Linked DNA regions of Homo sapiens: regions 1, 3, 4, 5 and 6 are each linked to region 2. Evidence: promoter capture Hi-C in 16 types of primary human blood cells and fetal thymus (Javierre and others, 2016). All regions are on one chromosome and are shown on one strand. Each heading gives the region's core, a stretch centred on a gene start or on the middle of the fragment in contact. The rest is flanking DNA. Distances are from core to core; before and after follow the strand shown. Region 1 overlaps TDRD9 (tudor domain containing 9). Region 2 holds the start of TMEM179 (transmembrane protein 179). Region 3 overlaps ASPG (asparaginase). Region 4 overlaps TDRD9 (tudor domain containing 9). Region 5 has its middle 21 kb from the start of ASPG. Region 6 overlaps TDRD9 (tudor domain containing 9).

Region 1 (4,228 bases), core at 87-2,586, 560 kb before region 2:
TGGTGGGTTGGTGCTGAGGGTCCTGAGAATGAGCCAGGTGGCAGCTGTCCCTGTTTTTTTGTTTGTTTTTTTGAGTTGGAGTCTCACTCTGTCACCCAGCCTGGAGTGCAGTGGTGCCATCTCAGCTCACTGCAACCTCTGCCTCCAAGTGATCCTCCCACTTCTGCCTCCCAGGTAGCTGAGATTACAGGTGTGCACCACCACACCTGGCTAATTTTTGTATTTTTAGTAGAGAAGGGGTTTCGCCCTGTTGGCCAGGCTTGTCTCAAACTCTTGGCCTCAAGTGATCTGCCCACTTCAGCCTCCCAAAGTGCTGGGATTACAGGCGTGAGCCACCGTGCCCAGTATATTAGTTCATTCTCACACTGCTAATAAAGACATACCCGAGACTGGGTAAATTATAAAGGAAAGAGGTTTAATTGACTCACAGTTCTGCACGACTAGGGAGGCTTCAGGAAACTTACAGTCATGGTGGAAGGGAAAGCAAACACGTTCTTCTTCACATGGTGGCAGCAAGGAGAAGTGCCGAGCAAAAGGGGGAAAAGAAAAGCCCCTTACGAAACCATGAGATTTCATGAGAATTCACTCACCATCACGAGAACAGCATGAGGTTAACCACCCTCATGATTAACTGCCTTCCAGAGGGTCCCTCCCATGACACGTGGGGATTATTTAGGATGAGATTTGGGTGGAGACACAAAGCTTAACCATATCACCTGGCCTGTGTCACCTTTTGTAATCTAGCTGCAGAAGCCACACAGCGTGAGTTTTACTGTAGTCACAGTCACAGCTAGACCACTGTGGCTTCTAGGTCCCACTGTAATTCACAGTGTGGTTGGAAACTACTGAGACGCCTTAGGCAAGGGAGTAACATTGTATTTGTTTTGAAAAGCTACTCCTGTGTGCTATATGGAGAAAAGATTGGAAGAGGCAGGAGTAAGAGATGGGGAATTGGTCGGAAAGTTGTTACCAAGTCCAGGTGAGAAATGGCAGTGGCTTGGACCAGGCTGTTGGCCGCAGCCATGGAGAGGCTATTAGGGAGTGATAAAGGTGACAGGACGTGCCAGTGGTCAGAGGAGGGTGGTGATAAAACTGGGATACAAAACTTTGTAAGTGTGCACCATTGTTTTAGGATGAGAAGGTGGAACATTTTTTTAGGCTTTTACTAAGTGCTAGACTTGTTTGACAGGTCATAAATATGTACATAGCCCTTTCTCCAGAAATCTCCCTAATAAGAATTTAACCCATGGAAAGAATTCGAAGGCAAGGGAAAAAAAAACCCATTCATGATAAAATATTCTTTTCATTATCTTATCTACCACATTAGAAACTTAATAAAGTATTAATACAAATTATTAAGTATTAATAAAAATACTGAATTTACTATTCTTATAACTATATTTTATAACTATATTTTGATTGTGAAAACTGGCAGAAAAATGCACAAGTGAAATTAATTGCTGTACTAGGGCTGGCAGAATTTAGGATAATTTTATCGGTCAATTTTTACATGCTAAAACATATACTTTAACAATTCTGAAATAATGGACTCTTCTGAAAACATTCCATTTAGGATTGATCAGAATGGCAAGTACTATACTGGAGTCCTTTGTGGTTTGGGGTGGAATCCAGCTACAGGGGCTTCCATACTGCCCGAGCACGACATGGAGCTTGCGTTTGACGTTCAATTCAGCGTGGAGGATGTCGTCGAGGTAAGGGTAGTGCAGCATCACGGCACCACAACCCTGTCTCTCTCTGGTTTTGCTTACCTGACAGTGAGTGCAGGGTCTGCTGTGGAGCTCGCGGTGCAGACACACACCTCTGGTCCTGGAGATGTGCACGTTCCTTGTCCCTCCTGGAGTCACCCTCCAGGAGGACCGCTCCTTAACTTGCCAGTTTGATGTATCTTTCCTGTGAAAAGTAACTTCCTGATGGTGCTCTCTGAGTCTCTCATTTGGTGTCTCCTGGCATAAGCTTTTCTGGGCAATCAGCTAAACCACGGGGCTGTAGGGCTGCTGTGGGTCTCATTCCAAGTCAGGAAGTGGAACATCCTTGCTAGTTCTTACTGGGAAAGGAGGACACAAGGTCCTGCCCCTCTGCCCTTCTCCCGGCCTGGTGACCATGCTGAGCAGAGGGCTGGGTCAGCGTGAGTGCAGAGCTGAGCTGCTTGCAGCATTGTCTGGGCACCGCACTAGCTCTGGGGTGAGGTGGCAAGGCAGACAGGGAAACTGTGTAGCAAGTACACAAAGTATTTGTATGTCATTTGAATCTAATAATAGAAATGTGGGCTCGTATTTGTGTACATTAAAAAAGATCTTTCATCGTTATAGTAATTTATTTTTATTGCATTTTACAAAGTGGGAAGACCAAAACTGATCCTTTACCACAAATAGTTTGAGAAATGCTACTTTCTAAGTACTCAGTCGCCTTTCTTTCTTAGAAGTTCCATGAGACGGGTGAGGTTAACATAACCACACTGAAGGGCCGGGGGAAAGGAGGAGCTGCAGAGACAGCTGCCGATGCTCCGGGGGCAGGTATCAGTGTTGTCTCTGCAACTGTTAAGTCATAATTGCCTGGTCACAAGAAGGGGCTTATGGGCTTGAAAATACTCCTTAAGCCATAGACCTAATGGGAAAATGTAAAACTATTAAAGTGCTACAAGCAAATTCAGGAAATCTGTGTGACTTTGGGTGTGGCATGAGTTTATAAATACAACACCCAAAGCACAATCTGTGAAGGGGAAATTGATACGTTTGAATTTATCAAAATTAAAAACTTTTGTTCCGCAAAAGACCCTCTTCAGAGGAAGAAAAGACAAAGTGCACACCAGGAGAAAATAGTTACAGGTTACATATCTGATGAAGGACTTGTATCCACAATATGTAAGGCACTCTTAAAACTCAATTATAAGAAAACAAGCAACAGAATTAAAATACGGATGACAGTAAACCCATGAAAAGATGCTCAGCATCATATGTCATTAGGAAAATGCAAATTGAGACTTCCATGAGATAGCACCACCTACTTACTGGAATGGCTGAAATCCAAAACCTGACAGTAACCAGCAATGGCAAGGAGGTGGTGCAGGGGGACCGGGGACCTTTTGTTCATTGCTGGTGGGAATGCAGATTAGTACCACTATTTTAGAAGACAGTTTCATATGAAGTTAAGCCTGCATCTACCATATGACCCAGGAATCCCATCTGTAGGTATTTATTCAAGAGATTTGAAAACTAGCATCCACATAGAGCTTGTATGTGAATATCAATTGCAGCTTGAGTCATAATTGCTAAAAACTGGGAGCAGTCAAGATGCCTTCAGCAGGCGAGTGGATAAACCATACTGATGACAGAGAATACTAACTCTGAATGCTATGAATTCTCTAACGGGATGAAATTCAGTTACGACGGAGCCTTATGAGTGTTTATGTTGCTGTTCATTTACAGGTTAATATTCTCAGGGCTGCTATTAACAAGCTAGTCTGTGATGGACCAAATGGATGCAAGTGTCTTGGGCCAGAGAGAGTTGCGCAGCTTCAAGACATTGCCCGTCAGAAGCTTTTAGGGTAAGCTGTGTGATGACGCGGGCTTCTTTTCTTCCCAGTCAACTTTCTCAGCTGCCTTGATCATGGCTGTTTTGAATTGTGTAGGCAATGTGACATATTGATCACCTGAAGTGGAGTGCCAGTGCTGGAGGCAGCACTGGGAGGCATCAGAATGTAGGCACGCCCTTCCTGTGGAGAGCAGCACCCTTGTCCTGTGTGTGTGTGTCCCTTGAAGGGACAGCGTGGGCAGGGCATGGGAAGCCACAGTGGGTAATGTGTCACCCACCATTCCTAGTGGTGGGTGTCTTAGGGATTGGGGGAGTCCGGCTTGTAGGATTGGGCCTTACAGAGCTGGGCCTCTCTTGAACCTCTCTGCAGGGGAGGTTGGAGAAGGAGCATTCTGACCTGACTTCCCTGTTTCTCACCTCCTGCTGGACTCTCCATGGGACAAACCAAACCAGAATGCAGACACAAAAGGCTCCTGTTGGTGTAGCCCATGAGCCCAAGGCAGCTTGAGGGCCCCGGGAAGGCCAAGAAGAGTGGGAGTGGTCATGGAGGAGAAACCAGCATTCCACCTACCCAGTCCTGTGCTCCTGCCCCAGAGCCAGTCTCCCTGGGAAGGGCCCGGTCCTTCCTTGCCTGACAGTGTCCTGTGCTGGCTGGGACCTGGACCTCTGTGAAAGC
Region 2 (3,965 bases), core at 559-3,058:
GTTTAGAGTGGGCCCTGAATCCAGTGACTGGTGTCCCTGTAAAAAGAGGGAGGACAGAGCAGAGCAAAGGCGCCCTGTGAGGACAGCGGCAGAGGGTGGTGGGACAAGTGGGTTTCAGTCCAGTTGGTGCAACTGTGCTGCAGCAGCCCCAGGGCGCTCCTACCCACAGGCGCTGGGATTCTCATTCCTCCTCCAGAGTTTGCAGCCCCACTCAGCATAGCCCTGGCTCCCTCCCTTCTCCCTGAAGCCCCTCTTCTTCCCCTCTCTGGCCCCTCTCTCAGCCAAAACCAAGCGGTGGGCTCACAGCGGGGGCAACAGGAGGGCTTCCCCACTCCTGCCGCCCACACCCCTCTGAGCCCTTCTCATCTCCCACCTGCGTGCAGGAAGTGAAAACCTACAACAAAGGATGGGGGTGAGGGCAGAGTTTGGGAGGAGCCTGGGTTTCATGAGTGCTCTCCCGGAACCTCTACAGGATCTCGGGCTGCTCCTGGGCACAGCAGGCCTCAGCCAGGGGAGTGGGAGGGCCCACAGAGGGCACCCACAGAGGGAGTGGGTGGGTTCACAGAGGGAGTGGGTGGGCTCACAGAGGGGGTGGGTGGGCTCACAGAGGGGGTGGGTGGGTTCACAGAGGGGGTGGGTGGATTCACAGAGGTGGTAGATGGGCTCACAGAGGGCACCCACAGAGGGAGAGGGTGGGTTCACAGAGGGAGTGGGTGGGCTCACAGAGGGAGTGGGAGGGTTCACAGAGAGCACCTGCAGAGGGAGTGGGTGGGCCCCCAGAGGGCCCCCAGGGTGCCACTGGCTAAGGGTGTCACCGCACCCCAGGTGAACCAGGTTGTATGGGCTCCAGTATCTAGCCGGAGCAGGAAAGAGAAAGAGGAAAATGCAGGCCAGGAGGAGGAAGGCGCTGAGCCCACAAGGCACAGCCCTCGCCCTGCAGTCTCTCTCCAGCTCCCCATCCAAGGCCTGAGCTCGAGGTGGGCCTGGGTGGCTCCCCTCCAGACAGCCATCTGCCGTCCCTTTCCCGGGGCGATGGTGCCGGGTGGGGCTCCCCAGTTCGCCTTGTCACTGGGACCTGGAGAGCTCAGTGCAAGCCCTAGACCGGGCTGGGAGTTGTCGCCGGTCCTGGCGAGTGTGGCCCGGCTGAGCCCGCCCAGGAAGGTCCAGGCCTGCTGGGTGATGACAGTGCAACATCTGCAACCCAAGGGAGCAGATGCCCGGAAGCGGGAGGTGATGCGCAGCTGGGGAGGGGAGGCACTGGCCTTGTACGCAGGACCGGTGGTCGTCATGGTCCCTGGATGTGTGTGTAGACAAAGGGCGGTCTGAGTGGAGGGGGTGAGGGCGGATTGTTGACATTTGCGGGCCTCGGAGCTGCCTGAGAGACGGAGGGACTCGCGCGCCTCCCCGGGGAGGTGGGTCTGGGGGCGCTGGGGGCATGGAAGGGGCGCCGCGCCGGGAGCGGCCCCCACTTACCCCTCGTGTCCCTTGCAGAGGAAGAAGAGCGTGCGCCAGGCGTGCGCGGCGGCCAGCAGCAGAGACAGGAGGCTGGCGAGCAGGCTGAAGCGGCAGGCGGCCGGCGGGCCCCACTCCTGCACCGTGAAGCGCTCGCGCTCCTGCACCGTGAGGTTGGCGCTCAGCCACATGCCCTCGGTGAAGAGCAGGCAGCGGCCGCGGAAGTCGTGGCCGTTCTCGGACAGCGGGACCACCACCACGAAGCTGAACAGGAAGGCCAAGAAGTAGCAGGCGCACTGAGCGAAAAGGAAATTGTTGAGCGCCATGGCCGGCCCGGGCGAGAGCGGCGGCGGGAAGGCCGCGGGAGGCTGCGCCGGGCGGGGAGGCCGCGGGAGGCTGCGCAGTGGCGGCGCCGGCAGGTCCCGCGCGCCCCTCCCGGGACGCGTGCGCATCGGCCGAGCGCGGGAAGCGCCTGCGGTCAGCACCGCGGACAGCTCCTGGTGCGCGCGGGCCAGGAGCCCGGGGTCCAGGGGCCAGAGAAGGGCGGCCTGCGGGAGATGCGGGAATTTTACCAGGTCGGCCTGGAGGGACCGACCCTGTGCCGCTAAAGACTTCGGGAGCCACCTGTACGGGCCTCACACAGGCCGACTCTGGGTCGTCAGTTCCTCATCAGCTCGAACGAAAGGAGACCAGGAGAGAGAGGGCGGGGCGGGGGGTGTTGGAGGACACCCCCAAGGTGCTCATAGTGAGGTGTAGGAGTGCGGTTTGCAGTCCAGGCTGAAGTGATTCCTTTGCGGGGGTCCCGAAATGCAATGTATGAGGGGAGGGGCCAGATCGTGGAGGAGTCGGGGTCCAAGGGACTGGGACAGAGGTCATCCTCGAAGAGATGGGGAGGGTGAGGCCAGGTGTGGGCAGGAGGGGGTGGACCGGGAGCTTCTGCAGCGCCAGCCCTCCGCGGGGACGTGTGTTACACTGCCTGACATGGGCAGGACCCTGGAGCTGCATTTGTAAGATAAATAATGGGTGTCCCGAGCGCCTCATTAAGACATCTTTGCTGAGATGGAAATCGCTGAGGCATTAATTAATAGAATTAATGCCTTTTCTAGTTGCCTTTAAGACTAAGTCACCTTTAGTCCAATTCCCAGAGTGAGGAAGCCTTAACATTGCTCCTCCTGGTTTAAAATTCCATCAGCATTTTTGTTGCAAGCATTAAAAAATATTTTTGTTTTATTGACTAAGTAATATATGCTCATTTCTTAAGTCAAGTAATAGAGATATGTATACAATAAAATAGAAAGCCTTCTCCTCATCCCCCTCCCCTACCCCATCACACTACCAGGGGTGACCACTTCAATAGCCTGGCATCTATTTTTCTAGACATTTTGCTAAGCACATAAGCACACACACAGAATTAACAAAAATGCTTCATACCATACATAGTTTTCTGAAGGCTGATTCTTTTATTCAACAAAATGTCAAGGAGATTATTCCCTGCCTACACATACACCTATTTTGTTCTTTTTAATAACTGCATAAGACTCCATTATAATGATGATTCCACAATCTGCATAACTATTCCTCTTAAGGTGGATGTTTTGTGTCTCCAGTTTTTGCTGTCTCAAATGCTGTCATGTGAACATTCTTGTACACATATGTTTGCGTTCTTGCACAGGCATTTTTATAAGAGAAATTCTTAGAAGAGGAATTGCTGGGTCATGGGGTATGCACATTTAAAATGTTGACAGAAATTGCCAAACCGGCTTTAAAAATGTTGTTCAGCCGGGCGCGGTGGCTCACGCCTGTAATCTCAGCACTTTGGGAGGGCGAGGCGGGTGGATCACGAGGTCAGGAGATCGAGACCATCCTGGCTAACATGGTGAAACCCCGTCTCTACTAAAAATACAAAAAAATCAGCCGGGTGTGGTGGCGGGTGCCTGTAGTCCCAGCTACTCGGGAGGGCGAGACATGAGAATCGCTTGAACCTGGGAGGCAGAGGTTGCAGTGAGCCGAGATCACGCCACTACACTCCAGCTTGGGCGACAGAGCGAGACTTGGTCTCAAAAAAAATAAAAATAAAAATAAAAAAATTAAAATGTTGTTCAAATTTACCCTCACATCTGGGTTGTAGACCCCTCCCCTCGCTGGCTGAGAAACAGCAGTTGTAGGCAAATCCTGCCAGTTTCCACAGAATGCGCTCATTGCTGTGTGAACTTGGACTTGCTTTGGCATCATGAGGCTGAGCATATCTTCTTACGCTTGCCACCATTTGCAACTTCTTCTCTTCTGTGGATTGCATTTCATTTTGCAGTCACTTTAAAGTCGGGCCTTGAAGGCCAGCCACGAGGTCAGCAACGGCCACTCTTCTCTTGGAGAATCCACTCAGGGTTTTTACCACTCTTGGAGTATCCCCAATTCTCCCCAAAGGGAGCTCACTCAGGAAATTCACCCCCTCCCCTAACTTGGGCAAGAGTGGAAGTTCCATCCACTCATTATCCAGCAGTTGGACCAATTTG
Region 3 (3,772 bases), core at 41-2,540, 520 kb before region 2:
TGCAGGAAAGAGGAGTGGGGAGCCCAGCAGGGCCGGAGCCTGCCAGAGCTGCCCCCGAGTGGGGACAGGACCTGGGGACTCTGTGTGGGGCCTCGTCCGACGCCCCTGACGCTACCCCTTCAGGCTTGGAGTGTGGCCAACTGCAGTTTCGTTGAGCTCAACATGTAGTTCTTGAGTGGTCCGAGCTGCAGGGGCAGGTGGACTCTGTAACCCCACCACACACCCGTCTCGCTTGGCCCCCGCGTGCTCGCCGCAGCAGCCTGTGGGTGCACTCACACGCGTGCACCGCATTTCTGAAAGAGGCTGTGAGGTCCTGTGTCTGGGTGGGAAACAAGAGACTTGGAGGCTGGAAATTGGGTGTGGGGCGTCAGTCTTCAGACCTGAAGCAGCCTTCTGAGATCCCTTGGTGCTCTGTGCACTGGGGTCCTGGCTTCTGCTCAGCAGCCCGTCCTCGTGTGGCTGCGAGGTCACCCCCAGCTGTTGCTAGCTGACCCATGTGGGGCATCCACTTCCAGGAACCTGCAGGAATGGGCTCCCCCAACCCCTCGTGAGGTTGGAGCAGCCAGACTGTCAGGCGTCAATGATTTACTCCCTCCACACTGCTGACGTGGGCTCTGGCCTTCCCTGGGGAGGTGAGAGGGGAGTGGTGGCTTTGCCCTAGTAAAGCTGTTTGATTGTCGCTGTTGGAACGGCTTCTGCGCCTGCTGGTAAACAGTGACCTGTGGGTGGAACGCTGCACACCTGGAGCCCTGCCAGAGTTCAGGGAGGGCAGAGGTGATGCCAGTGGGGACGCCCCTTGACCCATCCCTTCTCTGAGTTCATTGAAGCTATCACAGGTCAAGGGGCATAGCGAATCCAAACACGGCTGATAACCCCAAGCCCAAGCTGGCATCAGTGGCCACGTTCTGTACACCCGAGAAACTTGAAGACTTCCTATGTCAAACTGGGAACCCCACCTGCTTGCCGGCCTGTCCCAAAGTCCCTCCTGAGCCCGGCTCCTTGCAGGCACAGCAGGGAGGGCAGAGATCTGGGGCCAGGCAGCTGAGAGAAGCTCCCTGCCCGGTGACCACACGGGTCCCAGCAGTCGAGAGTGTCAGTGGAGTGATGCCCATGGCTTCTTGGTTACTGCAGTGGCGTCTGTGCCCTTGGCCTGGACCTCCTTCCTGAATGGGTGCTACACGTTCACAAGTTTCTAAGCCTAAGCTTGACTTCGCTGGTGACAGTGGGGCCCATTGTCTTAGAGAGCAAAGCCTCCTTTCCAGGTGTTTGGCAGGGGGCTGAGGAGTTTCCAAGTCACCAGCAAACTCAGGCACCTGCCTGGATGGGCCAAGGAAGAGGTTCCAGGCAGGGCTGGAGGGTTCAGATTCTGCAGCCCTTGAAGCTTTTGGAGGGCCCTCATTGAGAAAAGTAATACAAGTTACAAAATCATAGTTAGGTGTGAAAGCCGGTGTTTGTTTATTTTTTATTTATTTTTATTTTTTTGAGATGGAGTCTCACTCTGTCGCCCAGACTGGAGTGCAGTGGCGCGATCTCAGCTCACTGCAAGCTCTGCCTCCCGGGTTCACACCATTCTCCTGCCTCAGCCTCCCGAGTAGCTGGGACTACAGGCGCCCGCCACCGTGCCCGGCTGAAAGCTGGTGTTTATTTAAAATAACAAAAGAAATTGCCCCAGCTGACTGGGCGCGGTGGCTCACACCTGTAATCCCAGCACTTTGGGAGGCTGAGGTGGGTGGATCACTTGAGATCGGGAGTTCAAGACCAGCCATGGACAACATGGTGAAACCCTGTCTCTACTAAAAATACAAAAAAAAAATTAGCCAGATGTGGTGGCAGATGCCTGTGGTCCCAGCTACTGGGGAGGCTGAGGCATGAGAATCGCTTGAACCCAGGAGGTGGAGGTTGCAGTGAGCCGAGATCTCGCCACTGCACTCCAGCCTGAGTGACAGAGTGAGACCCTGTCTCAAACAAACAAAAAAAACTGATGCCACTACATACCTGTTAGAATGGCTGCTGACGTACAACACATTGACTGCGGGGTGAGTGCTGGAGCCCCAGAGTTGGAAAGTGGTCCACTCGCAGGTTGGTAAGAAAACTTTACTGGCGACAGTATAGGTTTGAAAAAGGAACGTTTGGCCAGACATGGTGGCTCAGGCCTGTAATTCCAACACTTTGGGAGGCCAAGGCGGGTGGTTCACTTGCCTTGCTAACATGGCGAAACCCCGTCTCTACTAAAAATAAAAAATTAGCTAGGTGTGGTGGTGCATGCCTGTAATCCCGGCTACTCGGGAGGCTAAGGCAGGAGAATTGCTTGAGCCGGGTGGGTGGAGGTTGCAGTGAGTCGAGATGGCATCACTGTACTCCAGCCTGGGCAACAGAGTGAGACTCTGCCTCAAAAAAAAAAAAAAAAAAAAAAAAAAAGGAAGAAAGGAGAAGAAAAAGAAAAAAGAAAGAAATTGGCCAGGCTGGTTTTGAACTCCTGGGCTCAAATGATCTTCCTGCATCAGCCTCCCAAAATTCTGGGATTACAGGTGTGAGCCATAAAAACCACTGCAAAAGCACATATGGAGTGTTTTGCTTGAGAGAAGAGGACACCAAGAGAGTTTAGTCTTGTCTTTGGCTGATTTCGCCTGTGGTGCCCACACATGCCCCCAGCAGGGACAGCAGGGCCCATATCCACGCCTACCACTCTGCAGCATTCCTGGAAGTTTCTGGAAGCTGTTCCCCCACATGAGTCAGCAGCAGCTGGAGGTGACCTTGCACAACGTGAGCATGTCCCACAAAACCAAACCAGATATGCCCCCTCCACCTTTCCCATAAGGCACCCCAGCTTCACCCGCCGTGATGAGTGGAGAGTGACTTTTTGTTTCCTGTGGCCACTGTGCCGGGCGGCTGAACATCACAGAAGTTCGTTCTGGGTTCTGGAGGCCGAGGCCTGAGAGGGGTTTCCCCGGGCTGAGCCAAGGTGCTGCAGGGCACCGCTCCGTCCTGACGCTCTGCGGGAGGAGCCACCCCTGCCACCTCCAGTGTCTGGTGGCTGCTGCAATCCTTGGCTTGTGGCCGCATCACTCCAGTCATCCAGGCCAGCATCTCCAAGGGCCGCTCTGCCCTGTCGTCATATGGCCTTCCCCTCCCCGTGCCCTGTGGCCTTCCACCTGTGAGGAAACACGAGAGGGCGTTTAGGGCCCACCTGGATTGTCCAGGGCCACCTCCCGCCCCATGACCCCTAATATCACATCCGTAAAGACACTTCCATATGAAGTGACACCCACAGGTACCGGGGATTGGGATGTGGACATCTTTTTAATTTTTATGTATTTATTTAATTTTTTGAGACAGTCTCATTCTGTCACCCAGGCTGGAGTGCAGTGGTGCGATCTTGGCTCACTGCAACCTCCGCCTGCCAGATTCAAGTGATTCTCCCGCCTCAACCTCCCAAGTAGCTGGGATTACAGGCACCTGCCATCATGACCAGTTAATTTTTGTATTATTCGTAAAGACAGGGTTTCACCATGTTGACCAGGCTGGTCTTGAATTCCAGACCTCAAGCAATCTGACACCTCGGCCACCCAAAGTGCTGGGATTCCAGGCCTGAGGCACTGCGCCCGGCCCTGGGATGCGGACATCTAGGATGCTTTTTCAACCCACCATACATGAGACAGGGACACTTGGACACCGGTGTGGGGTGGACCCTGAGCCCCCTGGATGCCCAGGGTCTGAGGTTGGGTCCTTGGGGTTCACAAGGCTGGTGAATCCAGACCTTTGTTCCGGCAGC
Region 4 (4,196 bases), core at 1,389-3,888, 590 kb before region 2:
GATGGTTTATGTCCTTGTTCAACTTGCCACTGTTTCCCAAGCCTCATTCTGAGAAGTACTCAAGCTCTTTTGAAGAAAGATGTTTCTGTTAGGTGAAAAAAGTGTTTATTTTTTAGTGTTTCTGTTAGATGAAATTACCAGAATTGTGACTTTCTGCTTGGTTGGTGAAAGGTCTAGTTTTCCATACAAACGATAACCATCTTTTACATTTATGGATGTCATATCATGCTGGGTTGAGATTAGTATATTGGTGAGAATAACTGATAAAATAATGCTGTTACTTCATGAAAATAAATTTCTTTTTCAGGTTGTATTGGCAGGTGCTTTCTATCCAAATTACTTTACTTTTGGACAGCCGGATGAGGAGATGGCGGTGAGGGAGCTGGCTGGCAAGGACCCCAAGACAACTGTCGTGGTAGGTGCTGGGGGCAGGCCGTCCTCTCTGGGGTGTGGTGGGGCAGAACATTTTTGTTCTCTAATTGTTTCTATTCTTGTGAGTCCTAAGTGAATTTTCCCCTGGCGTGAATATTAGGCTTGTTTGGCCTTTTCAGGTGTATCTAGGCTTGTTTGGCCTTTTCATGTGTATCTACTTGTCCCTCAGTCTCTTGCCTCCTTTTACAGACCTGGCCTTATAAGGAAGCCTTGAGAGTTTATACGTTCAAGGTCAATGCTGATTTGATCATGTGCTATTTTGAAGGATTTAAGGCACTTACAAGTTTAAGAACATTTTCTTAATTCACAACTTCATTTCATACAAAATAAAATGTTATTGGTTGGCAGCTGAGTGCTGTGGCTTAAGCCAGTGACCCCCCGACCTGGATGCCCAACAGAACTACCTGGAGAGTGCTTATTTTATTTATATTCGTTGAAATTCAGATCTGAAGGCTCTGCGAGATCTGAGCTAGAAAGTATGCCCTAGAAATCAGCATTCAAGTAGTGTGTACTTTGGGCATATCTAATGATCAGCCACAGGCCCTGACCATTGAATCAGCGTTTGCAACCCAGTTGTTTAAAGCCCAGCAGCAGGGAGACTCACACTGGAAGAAAGCTGAGACTGGACTGTTTTGGATCACTTGGTTCCAGTATGTGCCTGTATCTGATAAGGCGGGGTGAGAAGCGCTTGAAGTTCCTTCGTGTCATATCGTAAGGGCTCAGTCATTGCCAGATTTTATCCTGGTTATTGTTACACCACCACTGTTAGTCCTGAAGAAATAAATAGCTCATAAGGAAAGGGCGCAGATGACTTGAGATTACAACTGGAGGTCTTTGATGAGCACCAAAAGGAGCTGGTGCTCTGGAGATGAGAGAGGCAGCTGAGATACACTTGATACCCGTGGAAGGGACTTTAAAAGGAAGTCATTAGTTTTTTATAGCTACTGAGGATCATTTGATTGGCACCTCTGCTCCTGCTGGCCATCAGGTTTGACTAAGCTCTTTGCTTGGCTTCCTCTCTCACCCCTCTGCCCCTTCGTGGTTTTCTTCCCTCAGCTGTGCGCAAGAGGAAGGGTTCTATAGGTCTCTTCCTCAGACGTCTAGTAGCTATGCCTGCATCCCTCGACCACAGAGAGCCTAGTCTGGGGGCCCAAAATTACCTAGTGTGTACATCATAAAAGCTCAATAATAGCTGGCTTTACTTAGCACTTGAGAGGCTGTGTGTTAGGTACTTTTCATTCTTCTCTGAGCCTCACTCCACCCTTTGAGTTGGGGATTTCTCATGTCATTCTTATTTCATGATGTGGCAGTTGGGTCTCAGGGTAACTCTGTAACTTGCCTAAGGAGACACGCGGATTCAGGGAGTGAGGAGACAGGATCTAACTGGATCTGAGCCCCAGCCCATGCCTTCACTTACATGCCTTCTGTCACGGAGCCCCGTGCAGAGCTGCGCTGGCACAGGAGTTGTCCTGGTCCAGAAGAAAGTATGGAGTGCTTTGCAGAAACCCAGCATGGTACCTTGAGAGTTTATACATTAAAAGTCACTGCCAATTTGATCATGTGCTATTTGGTCTTTCCACTGTGGTGATGAGGAAATACATATTCCTCTCATTAGTTAGACATTTTCCTTTAAAGTTTACATTCCCATTATTCCTTATGTAGAAATATGTTTTGAAAAGAAGTATTTAGTAAGCTTGATTATTTTAAGGGAAAACAGAAGTAAACAAATCTTAATTTTGCTGTATTAGACTTACACCATTTTAACAGGGTTAGAATTAGCCTTTATTTAACATATTTATTATAGAACTTAGTTAGAATTTAAAAGTCTTTAAATGCACTGATCTGTAGAGTTTATATATTATGGTTAAAGATAGTAAACTATGTTTTTAGAAACTAAAACAGTGTGCAGCAGCTTTGAGCTTGTGAATGTTGAAACTATTTTGTTAGCTCTAGTAATCTGCTCTGATTTTGTGTTATATTTTACAGTTGAAACACATTCCTCCCTATGGATTTCTTTACTATAAACAACTACAGTCTCTCTTTAGACAGTGTGGTCAAGTCAAATCCATTGTATTTGATGGTGCAAAGTAAGTATATTTTTGTAATCAACTGCAATTATGAAGGAGGCATAATGATTCAAATGTTTCCAGACGCTGATTGTTAAAACGGAGTGCCCATGGAAATGGGTCCTCCTATGGGCTGCTGCAATTGGCTTTCAGAATGTAGCTTTGGTTTATCTTATGGTCAGAAGCAATTTGTCTTCTCTTTCTGCTAAGTGACCTCCTAAAGGAACTAAGCTGCTGGTTAGTGGTCAAGCATGGTCACTCCAAGAAGGCTCAGTAACTCAGTGTGATGCTAAGGCGGATTCTCTTAAAGTGATCTTCACTTTCACGCACTGGTCTGAGATTTTCTCAGTGAGTCATTAGTAAGAGTTATTTTGTGGGCCATGAAGGTGATCCAAAATAGAGTGTATCTGCTTATAGTTGTCTAAAGCAGATATGTTTTGAATATTTTTGGAAGGCAAACATTGTAAAAACTCAATTTGGCTCTACTTACTGCATGTAAGGAACAAATGTGTGTTTTGGAGCATCACTGAGTTTTTATTTCTAACAGGAAATGTTTATGTACCAAAAAGCCTAAAGTAGGATTTTTAATTTTTAAAGTTAGAAATTTTTTCCAGTGTTCTGTGAATGTTGTATAAATTTTTATTTAACTTTACAAAGCTTTGTAAATAAGAACAAACACTTTTTCTTTAATGTCCAGTTCACTCAAGTTGAACATTAAGTCCATTTTCAATTTGGGGTAATTCCCTCCGGCATTTTAAGTTCCATTTCTATGATTAATATATTGATTTTCTTTGTAGGCCTGTAAATGCTTCATGAGGCAAACACACAACTCCCTAATAAGCAAAACCTTCCTAAGTGCTTTGAACAACTCTTAGAGAATTAATTAAACTTGTAGTGTCTGAACTTTTCTTAAATATTCTGATGTAAATTATAGTAAGATTCTTAGTCACATATATAAAGTAACTTACTTAAAGCTGGAATCACACAGCTAAACTCATTCCTGAATAGTGTGCGTCTGCTTACCTGGGTGAGCTTCCAGTTCTGCATGGATGCTCCTTTGACTGATTTGAGTGGTCAGAAGGCTTGGCTCCCAGAAGATTGCAGCATCTTTGTTCCCTCTTCTTTACAACTGGATTGGGTTCTGTGTTTGTTGCCTGTTCTTCTTGCCTGGGACTTTTTTTTGTTTTATTATTTTTATTTATTTATTTTTGAGACAGAGTCTTGCTCTGTCATCAGGCTGGAGTGCAGTGGCACAATCTCGGCTCACTGCAACCTCCGCCTCCCATTGCCTGGGACCTTTTTTATAGGTGTTTATATCTTTTGCATTCCTCATATTTCCAGCTCTCAAGTCATAATACAAATGTCATACCAATTTTTTGGGGGAAGTAACAGTATTCTTTCTGTACCAGTACCAGTTCTTGGGATTCAAGTATTTAAAGGCAAAGGAAGTTACAGTGATTGAAAGAATAAGAAGTGTATTTCTTTTGGCATAGAGCAGGGGTGACTTCATGTAGACTCTGTGAGGTGCCAAGGGCGCATGGGCAGATGGGCACAGGTGGTACCTGGGCATATCATGTTCTCCCATAAGAAGCTTTCAACTTCGTGGTAGGAGTGGAGAGTCAAATTAGTTTCACAGACATTTGCCTGCTGTGAGATGTCATGGGAAAGGCCTAGAAGGTCAGAAGAAGACATTCTATC
Region 5 (3,985 bases), core at 941-3,440, 540 kb before region 2:
GGCTGGTCTCAACCCCCTGAGCTCAGGCAATCTTCCTGCCTCAGCCTCCCAAAGTGCTGGAATTACAGGTGTGTGAACAACCACACCTGGCCCTAGTGGCTATTTTTAAATTGAGTTGTCTTCTTGTTGAGTGCTAGGAGTGCTGTATACATTCCGGATATTATACTCTTATCAGATATGTGATTTACAAATATTTTCTCCCATTCTGTGAGAATCCTCCCACCAAAGTCCAGGAACAGACAGCCCCACTACCAAATGTTCTGTGAAACATTAAAGAAGAATTAACTCCAATCCTGCTCAAACTCTTCCAAAAAATGAACAGAAGGGACACTTCCTAACACATTCTGTGAGGCCAGCACTACCCTGATACCAAAGCCAAAGATACTGCAAGAAAACTACAGACCGATATATATATATATATATATATATATATATATATATAATATACATTTATATATATTTATATTTATATTTTGAGACAGAGTCTTACTCTGTTGCCCAGGCTGGAGTGCAGTGGCACGATCTTGGCTTACTTCAACCTCTGCCTCCCAGGTTCAAGCAATTCTGCTTCGGCCTCCTGAGTAGCTGGGACTACAGGTACGTGTCACCACACCCAGCTAATTTTTGTATTTTTAGTAGAGACGAGGTTTCACCATGTTGGCCAGGCTGGTCTTGAACTCCTGATCTGTGATCCACCTGCTTTGGCCTCTGAAATTGCTGGGATTACAGGCATGAGCCACTGCGTCCGGCCAAACCGATACTTTTATGAATGTAAATTCACAAATCCTTAGCAAAATGCTAGCAACCAAATCCAACAGCACATTAGAAGGATTATACACCACAGCCACGTGGTGTGTGCTGCCCTAAAGTCTGTACGCCGTCACTCCAGTGGGGGACAGAATCCTGCCTCTCGTCTTTTGATGTCCATCTTTAGAAACCCTTCCCTGCCAGGAGACAAGGGAGTATGTGGAGGTCTGGGTGCTGGGACTTCCTGAAGTGTCCAGAACCACTAAGATGTTTGATTTCTTTATTTGGCCGGATGCTTTTTCTTGGTGGTGGTAATAACTTAGCAGTGAAGTTGTGGAAGAGTGAGTACCACAGCTTTCTTTAGAGATTAATACTAGCCAGTGAGAAGAACTCAGTGGTGCAGAACCTGGTATTTTTGAAGCCAGATCCTTCACACTGTTTTCCTTCTTAAAAAAAAAAAAACAGCTTTATTGAGATATAATTCATATACCATATAATTCACCTATTTAAAAGTGTCCTGTCCAGTGATTTTAGTATGTTCACAGTGTTCTGCAGCCATCTCCACAATCAACGTTAGAGCATTTTCATCACTCGAGAAAGAATCTCTGGAACCATTTGAGGTCATCCCAGTTTCTCCCTACTCCACGCTTTCCCCGCCCCAGCCTCACCCTTGTCCCCAGGCAATCACTTATCTGCTTTGTCTTTGTATTTTGCCTGTTCTGTCTCTATATACATGCCTGTTCTGGACGTCCCGCCCCTTGTAATTATATATTATCTGTTGACCAACATCTTTCCCCGTTGGACTCCCTGCAACCGCCCAAGCTCTGGTAACCGCCATTCTACTCTGTCTGCCTATGAGATCAGCTGTTGTAGGTTCCGCATGTGAGTGAGATCATGCAGGATTTGTCTCTCTGTGCCTATTTCATCCAACTTAATGTTCTCCACATTCATCCATGGTGTCACAAATGACAAGATTTCCTTCTTTTTATGTATGCTTATTGTTTTTCTGTAGAGTGAACCCCATCTCCTGCCAGGCACTGACTGGCAGGTTTAGTGTTTTTGTTGGTTTTGTTTTGCCAAGGGAGTGGGAGGCAGGTGGTCCACTGGGCCTCAGCTTGTCTCCTTGTCTTCAGCTCTGCTGAAGGGCACTTCACCACCTTGTCCTCGGTACTTGGTGCAACCCTCTTATGGCTTACCCAGGAGGTAGATACAGCCCCGTCGTTGATATCATTCCTAGTAAACGCAGTTGGTAGAAAACACAAAATACAGCAGACAATGATAACATGTATTATAGAAAGCTGAAGAATTACATTTAATGGTGACATTGAAAACGGTTAGAATTTATCTGGGGAAAAGTAAGCTTGACAGGAATAATCCTAAAACCACAGCCAGTGACAGTGGTTACTGTCTAAAAATGGAGAGAACAGCCATCTTTGTAAAATTTGACCCAGGAAAATAATGGCTCCCAAAGATAATCCGTACACAGATGCTCTCACCAAAAAACACATAGGCAGAACTTGCCTCCCCAAAGCTTGTCTGGAAGATAATTAACCTGATGAAAAATCTTTTAGGAAATTTTAAAAAGAAAATATAAAAAGTAGAAACTACTTTGTTTAGAAAATTGAGCAAAGAAGTATACTGACTTGGTGAAATTCATTTAAGAAAATACTTTTTCAGTGAAAATTCATCATTCGTATAATGCTGATTAATATGTTTTAAACTTAAGTGGGCGGATCACCTGAGGCCAGGAGTTCAAGACCAGCCTGACCAACATGGAGAAACCCTGTCTCTATTAAAAATACAAAATTAGCCGGGTGTGGTGGCACATACCTGTAATCCCAGCTACTTGGGAGGCTGAGACAGGAGAATCGCTTGAACCTGGGAGGCAGAGCTTGTGGTGAGCCGAGATTACACGCCATTGCACTCCAGCCTGAGCAACAAGAGTGAAACTCCATCTCAAAAAAAAAAAAAAAAAAAAGAGAAAAAATGTTTTAAACTCACACTTTGTCAGAAATGGCAGGTGTATTAGTCTGTTCTCGCACTGCTATAAAGAACTACCTGAGACTGGGTAATTAAGAAAAGAGGTTTAATTGACTCAATTCTGCCAGCTGCACAGAAAGCATGGCTGGGGAGGCCTCAGGAAACTTACAGTCATGGTAGAAGGGCAAAGGGGATGCAAGCACCTTCTTCACATGGAGGAGCAGGAGAGAGAGAGTGAAGGGGGAGGTGCTACACACTTTTAAACAACCAGATCTTATAAGAACTCACTATCACAAGAACAGCAAGGGGGAAATCTGCCCCCATGATCCAATCACTTCCCATCAGGTCCCTCTCCCAACACTGGGGATTACAATTCAACATGAGATTTGGATGGGGACACAGAGCCAAACCATATCATTCTGCCCCTGGCCCCTCTCACATCCCATGTCCTTCTCACATTTCAAAACCAATTATGCCTTCCCAAAAGTCCTTCAAAGTCTTAACTCATTCCAACTTTAACTCAAAAGTCCAAGTCCAAAATCTCATCTGAGACAAGGCGAATCTCTTCCACCTATGAGCCTGTAAAATAAAAAACAAGTTAGTTGCTTCCAAGATGCAATGTGAGTACAGGGATTGGTTAAATGCTCCCATTCCAAAAGGGAGAAATTGGCCAAAACAGGGGCTACAGGCTCTATGCAGGTCTGAAACCCAGCAGGTCAGTCATTAAATTCCTAAAGCTCCAAAATGATTGATTCTTTTTACTCCATGTCTCACATGCAGGCCATACTGATGCAAAGGGTGGGTTCCCAAGGCCTTGGGCCGCTCTGCCTCTGTGGCTCTGCAGGGTACAGCACCTGCAGCTGCTTTCACAGCCTGGCATTGAGTGCCTGTCGCTTGTCCAGGCACATGGTGCAAACTGTTGGTGGATCTACCATTCTGGGTTCTGGCAGATGGGGACACTCTTCTCACAGCTCCACTAGGGCAGTGCCCCAGTGGGGACCGCGTCTGGAGGCTCCAACCCCACATTTCCCCTTTGCACTGCCCTAGTAGGTTCTCCGTGAGGGCTTCACCCCTGCAGCACACCTCTACCTAGACATGCAGGCATTTGCATACATCCTCTGAAATCTAGACAGAAGATCCCAAACCTCAATTCTTGACTTCTGTGCACCTACAGGCTGCATGGGAGCCCAGGCTGACTTCTGCCTGGACATCCAGGTGTTCCCATACATTCTCTGAAATCTAAGTGGAGGCTCCCAAC
Region 6 (4,407 bases), core at 779-3,278, 660 kb before region 2:
TAAAATTACAGCGAATCTTGCCGCATACTCCTTTGAATAACCTCCTTGTTACTGCATAAATTTTTTTCCTCTGAAATGGTAACAAAAATATCAGAACATATTGGATATGGAACTTAAGCCAAATTTCTGTTCAAGGCCCTCTGCAGTCTCACATTATCCCTCCTTCAAGGCCCTCTACAGTCTTACGTTATCCCTCCTTACCTGGCTTGCTTTCTTGCTCGACCCTAGAGCACACCTTTTGTTTCAGCCAGGCCACGTTGCCCCCTGACGCTTGCCATGCTTACTTCTGATCCTTCAGCTTTGGTTCAACTGTTTTTTCTCTTCTGAAAAGCTGCTTCTTTGTGTTTTTCATGTATCCACATAGTAATTCTCTTTTTCATGGACCAGCTCAAATACCAACTGATTTTTTCCTTCAACCTGAGGGTCAATGTGAACATCTTCCTTGGCCCTTCTTTTCCTTTGAACTCTGATTTTATTTATCTTCACTGTTAAACTTATAGAAAGACTGGTTTGGTCTGTGTTTCTGTTCTCTCTCCACCCCGCCCCCCACCCTTTTTTTTTTGAGATGGAGTCTTGCTCTGTCGCCCAGGCTGGAGTGCAGTGGCGTGATCTTGGCTCACTGCAACCTCTGCCTCCTGAGTTCAAGTGATTCTTGTGCCTCAGCCTCCCTCGTAGCTGGGATTACAGGCGTGCACCACCACACTCAGCTAATTTTTGTATTTTTAGTAGAGATGGGGTTTTGCCATGTTGGCCAGCTGGTCTTGAACTCCTGACTTCAAGTGATCTGTTCGTCTTGGCCTCCCAAAGTGCTGGGATTACAGGCGTGAGCCACCGTGCCCGGCTTCTTTTCCCTTTTTCCTAATGCTTTCCAATTAGATCCTGCTGTGTCCTCTACTGTAATTGCTGGCTTTCAGTCACTTAACAGATATCTATTGACTGTCTGCCAGGGCCTGAATAGTTAGGGGCTGGGGTGTAGCAGTGAACAAGAAAGACCTAGTTCCTACTCCCAAGGAGCCAGCCTCCAAATGTGAAGACAAATATAAGTACACAAATCAGTAAGGTAATTATAGATGGTCATAATCTATTAATATACTTGGAACACTTCTCCCACTTAGAACTGGAGGTCAGAGAAGACCTTTTTGGGTAGGAGGTATCCTTTTAACAGAGATTTAGAGATCAATGAGCTAGCCACTGGAAGAGCTTCTTGAAGGCAATCTTCCTTCTCCACTTACTTGTTTGACACCTTTCTTGCCATTGAAACCATTACCAAAGACCTTTTCAGAACTTTTCTTACCACCTTAACTCACATTGAGTATACCTTCCTTTGAAGTTAATTGTGTAAACCAATTTTTCTAGTACTTAGTGTGTGCTACTTGCCTTACAGATTTTATTTTGTCCTGTCTCCTGAGATTATCAGATTGAAGTAGAGACCCAAATAATTCTCTGATTACAGTATTTCTTCTACTGCTGTGTAGATAGAGAACATAAATATTTGTAAGCAAAGGTAAGGAAGTATCTTGGATTGTATTTATCTTACATTATAATGAGTTGAAAAAATGAATTGTTTCTGATGAATTGCAAACTTCCTAGGATATTTTGTGTGGACGACATAAAGCTTAAGCTGTTAGGTCCTTTGCTTTTTGGTCATTGTCATAGTTTTCTAGTTTACACCTTGTTAGCTAAGTATTAAATTTTATAAGACTTAAAATGAAATAGGACCGTATCATGCATAATATATGTGTGTCTATGTAAAATTTTAAGATCTGTAAGGAAGTACATAAAAAGAAAAGTTTAGAAAGACAAAATTTTGGAACCTTGAAAAGCAAGCTAAGGAGCCAGACATAACTTTTTATATATTACAATCAGGGCTGCTTTATATAGTATTCAACAGCACTTGATTGCAATCAAAGAAGGATTTTTCATTGTGGGAAGACTCATATCTTTCTGTTTTTTTTTTTCTTTTTTTGAGACAAGGTATTGCTCACCTAGGCTAGAGTACAGTGGCATGGTCATAGCTCACTGCAGCCTCAGCCTCCTGGGCTCAAGAGATTCTCCCACCTCAGCCTCTCAAGTAGCTGGGACTATAGGCACGTGCCACCATGCCTGACTAATTTTTAAATGTTTGGTGGAGACTGGGTCTCACTCACCATGTTGCCCAGGCTGGTCCTGAACTCCTGGGTACAAGCAATCCTCCCACCTCAGCCTCCCAGTGTGCTGGGATTATAGGCATGAGCCACTGTGCCCAACCTGTTTTTAATTCATTTTGCTACTGAATTAAAAGTTCTGGGTTATTGATTCATTTTTCTTAAGGTAAAAAGTACATTTCTGTGGAGTTGTTCATATTAAAAACTCTCAACAAACTAGAAATAGAAGGAAACTACTAGCATAATAAAAGCCATATGTGAAAAGCCCACAGCTAACATCATACTCAATGGAAGATTGAAAGCTTTTCCTCTAAGATCAGGAACAAGGTGAGGTTGCCGCCTTTCACCACTTTTACTTAACTTAGTACTAGAATTTCTAGCCAGAGCAATCAAGGAAGATTAAGAAATAAAATGCATCCAAATTACAAAGGAAGAAGTAACATTATCTCTGTTTGCAGATGATATAATTTTATATGTAGAAACCCCTAAAGATTCCACAAAAACCTGTCAGAACTAATAATTGAATTCAGCAAAGTAGCAGTCTACAAAGTTAACACACAAAATTCAGTCTCATTTCTATACCCTAACAATGAACAATCTAAAAAGGAAATTACAAAACTATTCTATTGGTAATAGCATCAAAAAGAATAAAATACTCAGGGATTAACCAAAGAAGTGAAAGTCTGGACAATGAGAAGTGCAAAACATTGCTGAAAGAAATTAAAAACATAAGTAAATGGAAATACATCCTCTATTCATGGATTGGAAGACAATATTGTTAAAATGTCAGTACTACACGATGTGATCTACAGATTCAATGCAATCTCTGCCAAAATCCTAATGACTTTTTTTTCATAAATGGAAAAATCCATCCTGAAATTCATATGGAATGTCAAGGAACCCTGAATAGTCAAAACAATCTTGAAAAAGAAGTACAAAGCTGGAAGACTCACATTTCCTGATTTTTAAATTACTACAAAGCTACAATCATCAAAACAGTATGGTATTGGCATAAAGACGCATAGACCAATGGAGTAGAGAGCCCAGAAATAAACCCTCACATACATGGTCAATAATTTTCAGTAAGGGTGCCAACACCAATTAAGGGGAAAAGGACAGTTTGTTTTTTTTGTTTGTTTGTTTGTTTTGTTTTTTTTGTTTTTTTGTTTTTTTTTGTTTTTTTAGATGGAGTCTCTCTCTGTCGCCCAGGCTGAAGTGCAGTGGCGATTTCTACTCACTGCAAGCTCTGTCCCCCAGGTTCATGCCATTCTCCTGCCTTAGCCTCCCGAGTAGCTGGGACTACAGGCGCCCGCCACCACGCCCGGCTAATTTTTTTGTATTTTTAGTAGAGATGGGGTTTCACCGTGTTTGCCAGATGGTCTGGATCTCCTGACCTCGTGATCCACCCGCCTTGGCCTCCCAAAGTGCTGGGATTACAGGCATGAGCCACCGTGCCTGGCCAGGACAGTCTTTTCAGCAAATGATGCTGAGAATAGTGGAAATCCACAGGCAAAAAAATGAAATTGGATTACTACTTTACACCATATACAAAAATTAAGTTGAAATGGATTAAAGCTCAAAAGTAAGACCTAAAACTGCAAAACCCTTAGGGGAAAACTGAGGGCACAAACTTCACATCGTATGTGGCAATAATTTCTTGGATATGACACCAAAGGCACAGGCAACAAAAGAAGAAAGACAAATTGGACTTGAAAGATTTGTATATCAAAAAACTGAACAGTAAAAAGGCAGCTCACAAGATGGAGAAATATTTGCAAATCATGTATCTGAAAAGGGATTAATACATAGAATGTATAGAGATTTCCCAAAATGCAACAAGAAAAAAACAGATTTTTATTTTTTTAAGAGGGAGGGTCTCACTCTGTTGCCTAGGCTGGAGTGCAGTGGTGCAATCATAGCTCACTGCAGTCTCGACCTCCTAGGCTTAAGGGATCCTTCTGCCTCAGCCTTCCAAGTAGTTGGGACTATAGGTGTGCAGCAGCGTGCCTGCTATTTTTTTTTTTTATTTTTTGTAGAGACAGGGTCTTACTATGTTGCTCAGGCTGGTCTTGAACTCCTGGTTTCAAGTGATCCTCCCACCTTCACCTCCCAAAGTGCTGGGAGTATAGGCATGAGTCATTGCACCCGGCAAAAAAGTTGATTCAAAATTGGCAAAACAGGAGTTGGTGAGGATGTGGAGAAATTGGAACCCCTGTGTACTGTTGGTGAGAATGTAAAATGGTGGGGCTGCTGTGGAAAACAG

What was found. Contacts are between HindIII fragments. The CHiCAGO score rates a contact against its expected background, and 5 or more counts as called.
Region 1: a fragment that was not itself captured here is called in contact with the fragment with the promoter of TMEM179 in region 2 in 1 of 17 cell types (endothelial precursors); the score reaches 5.3 in endothelial precursors.
Region 3: a fragment that was not itself captured here is called in contact with the fragment with the promoter of TMEM179 in region 2 in 12 of 17 cell types (M1 macrophages, non-activated CD4 T cells, naive CD8 T cells and 9 more); the score reaches 12.7 in M1 macrophages.
Region 4: a fragment that was not itself captured here is called in contact with the fragment with the promoter of TMEM179 in region 2 in 5 of 17 cell types (total B cells, total CD4 T cells, activated CD4 T cells and 2 more); the score reaches 7.3 in total B cells.
Region 5: a contact is called between a fragment that was not itself captured here and the fragment with the promoter of TMEM179 in region 2, in 10 of 17 cell types (endothelial precursors, naive CD8 T cells, total CD8 T cells and 7 more). The highest score is 10.8, in endothelial precursors.
Region 6: a fragment that was not itself captured here is called in contact with the fragment with the promoter of TMEM179 in region 2 in 1 of 17 cell types (endothelial precursors); the score reaches 5.3 in endothelial precursors.

The regions. Positions count from the first base shown.
Region 1 is chr14:104,038,623-104,042,850 of GRCh38, forward strand. TDRD9 (tudor domain containing 9) reads left to right here. Exons shown (of 36, transcript NM_153046.3): 33 at 1,574-1,712; 34 at 3,447-3,565. Among named protein-coding and RNA genes, the nearest start is that of ASPG, 45 kb to the right of the region's middle. The HindIII fragment of the contact is 1,272 bases long and covers 701-1,972 here.
Region 2 is chr14:104,602,964-104,606,928 of GRCh38, forward strand. TMEM179 (transmembrane protein 179) reads right to left here and starts at 1,809. Exons shown (of 4, transcript NM_001286389.2): 1 at 1,474-1,809. The coding sequence starts at 1,778. The HindIII fragment of the contact is 15,381 bases long and covers 1-3,965 here.
Region 3 is chr14:104,087,557-104,091,328 of GRCh38, forward strand. The region is part of intron 1 of ASPG (asparaginase); the gene reads left to right. Among named protein-coding and RNA genes, the nearest start is that of ASPG, 3.7 kb to the left of the region's middle. The HindIII fragment of the contact is 178 bases long and covers 1,202-1,379 here.
Region 4 is chr14:104,015,674-104,019,869 of GRCh38, forward strand. TDRD9 (tudor domain containing 9) reads left to right here. Exons shown (of 36, transcript NM_153046.3): 22 at 308-415; 23 at 2,419-2,519. Among named protein-coding and RNA genes, the nearest start is that of ASPG, 68 kb to the right of the region's middle. RefSeq lists an enhancer at 1,224-2,423. The HindIII fragment of the contact is 1,030 bases long and covers 2,124-3,153 here.
Region 5 is chr14:104,062,751-104,066,735 of GRCh38, forward strand. No RefSeq gene overlaps it. Among named protein-coding and RNA genes, the nearest start is that of ASPG, 21 kb to the right of the region's middle. The HindIII fragment of the contact is 171 bases long and covers 2,106-2,276 here.
Region 6 is chr14:103,944,022-103,948,428 of GRCh38, forward strand. The region is part of intron 1 of TDRD9 (tudor domain containing 9); the gene reads left to right. Among named protein-coding and RNA genes, the nearest start is that of RD3L, 3.7 kb to the left of the region's middle. The HindIII fragment of the contact is 831 bases long and covers 1,614-2,444 here.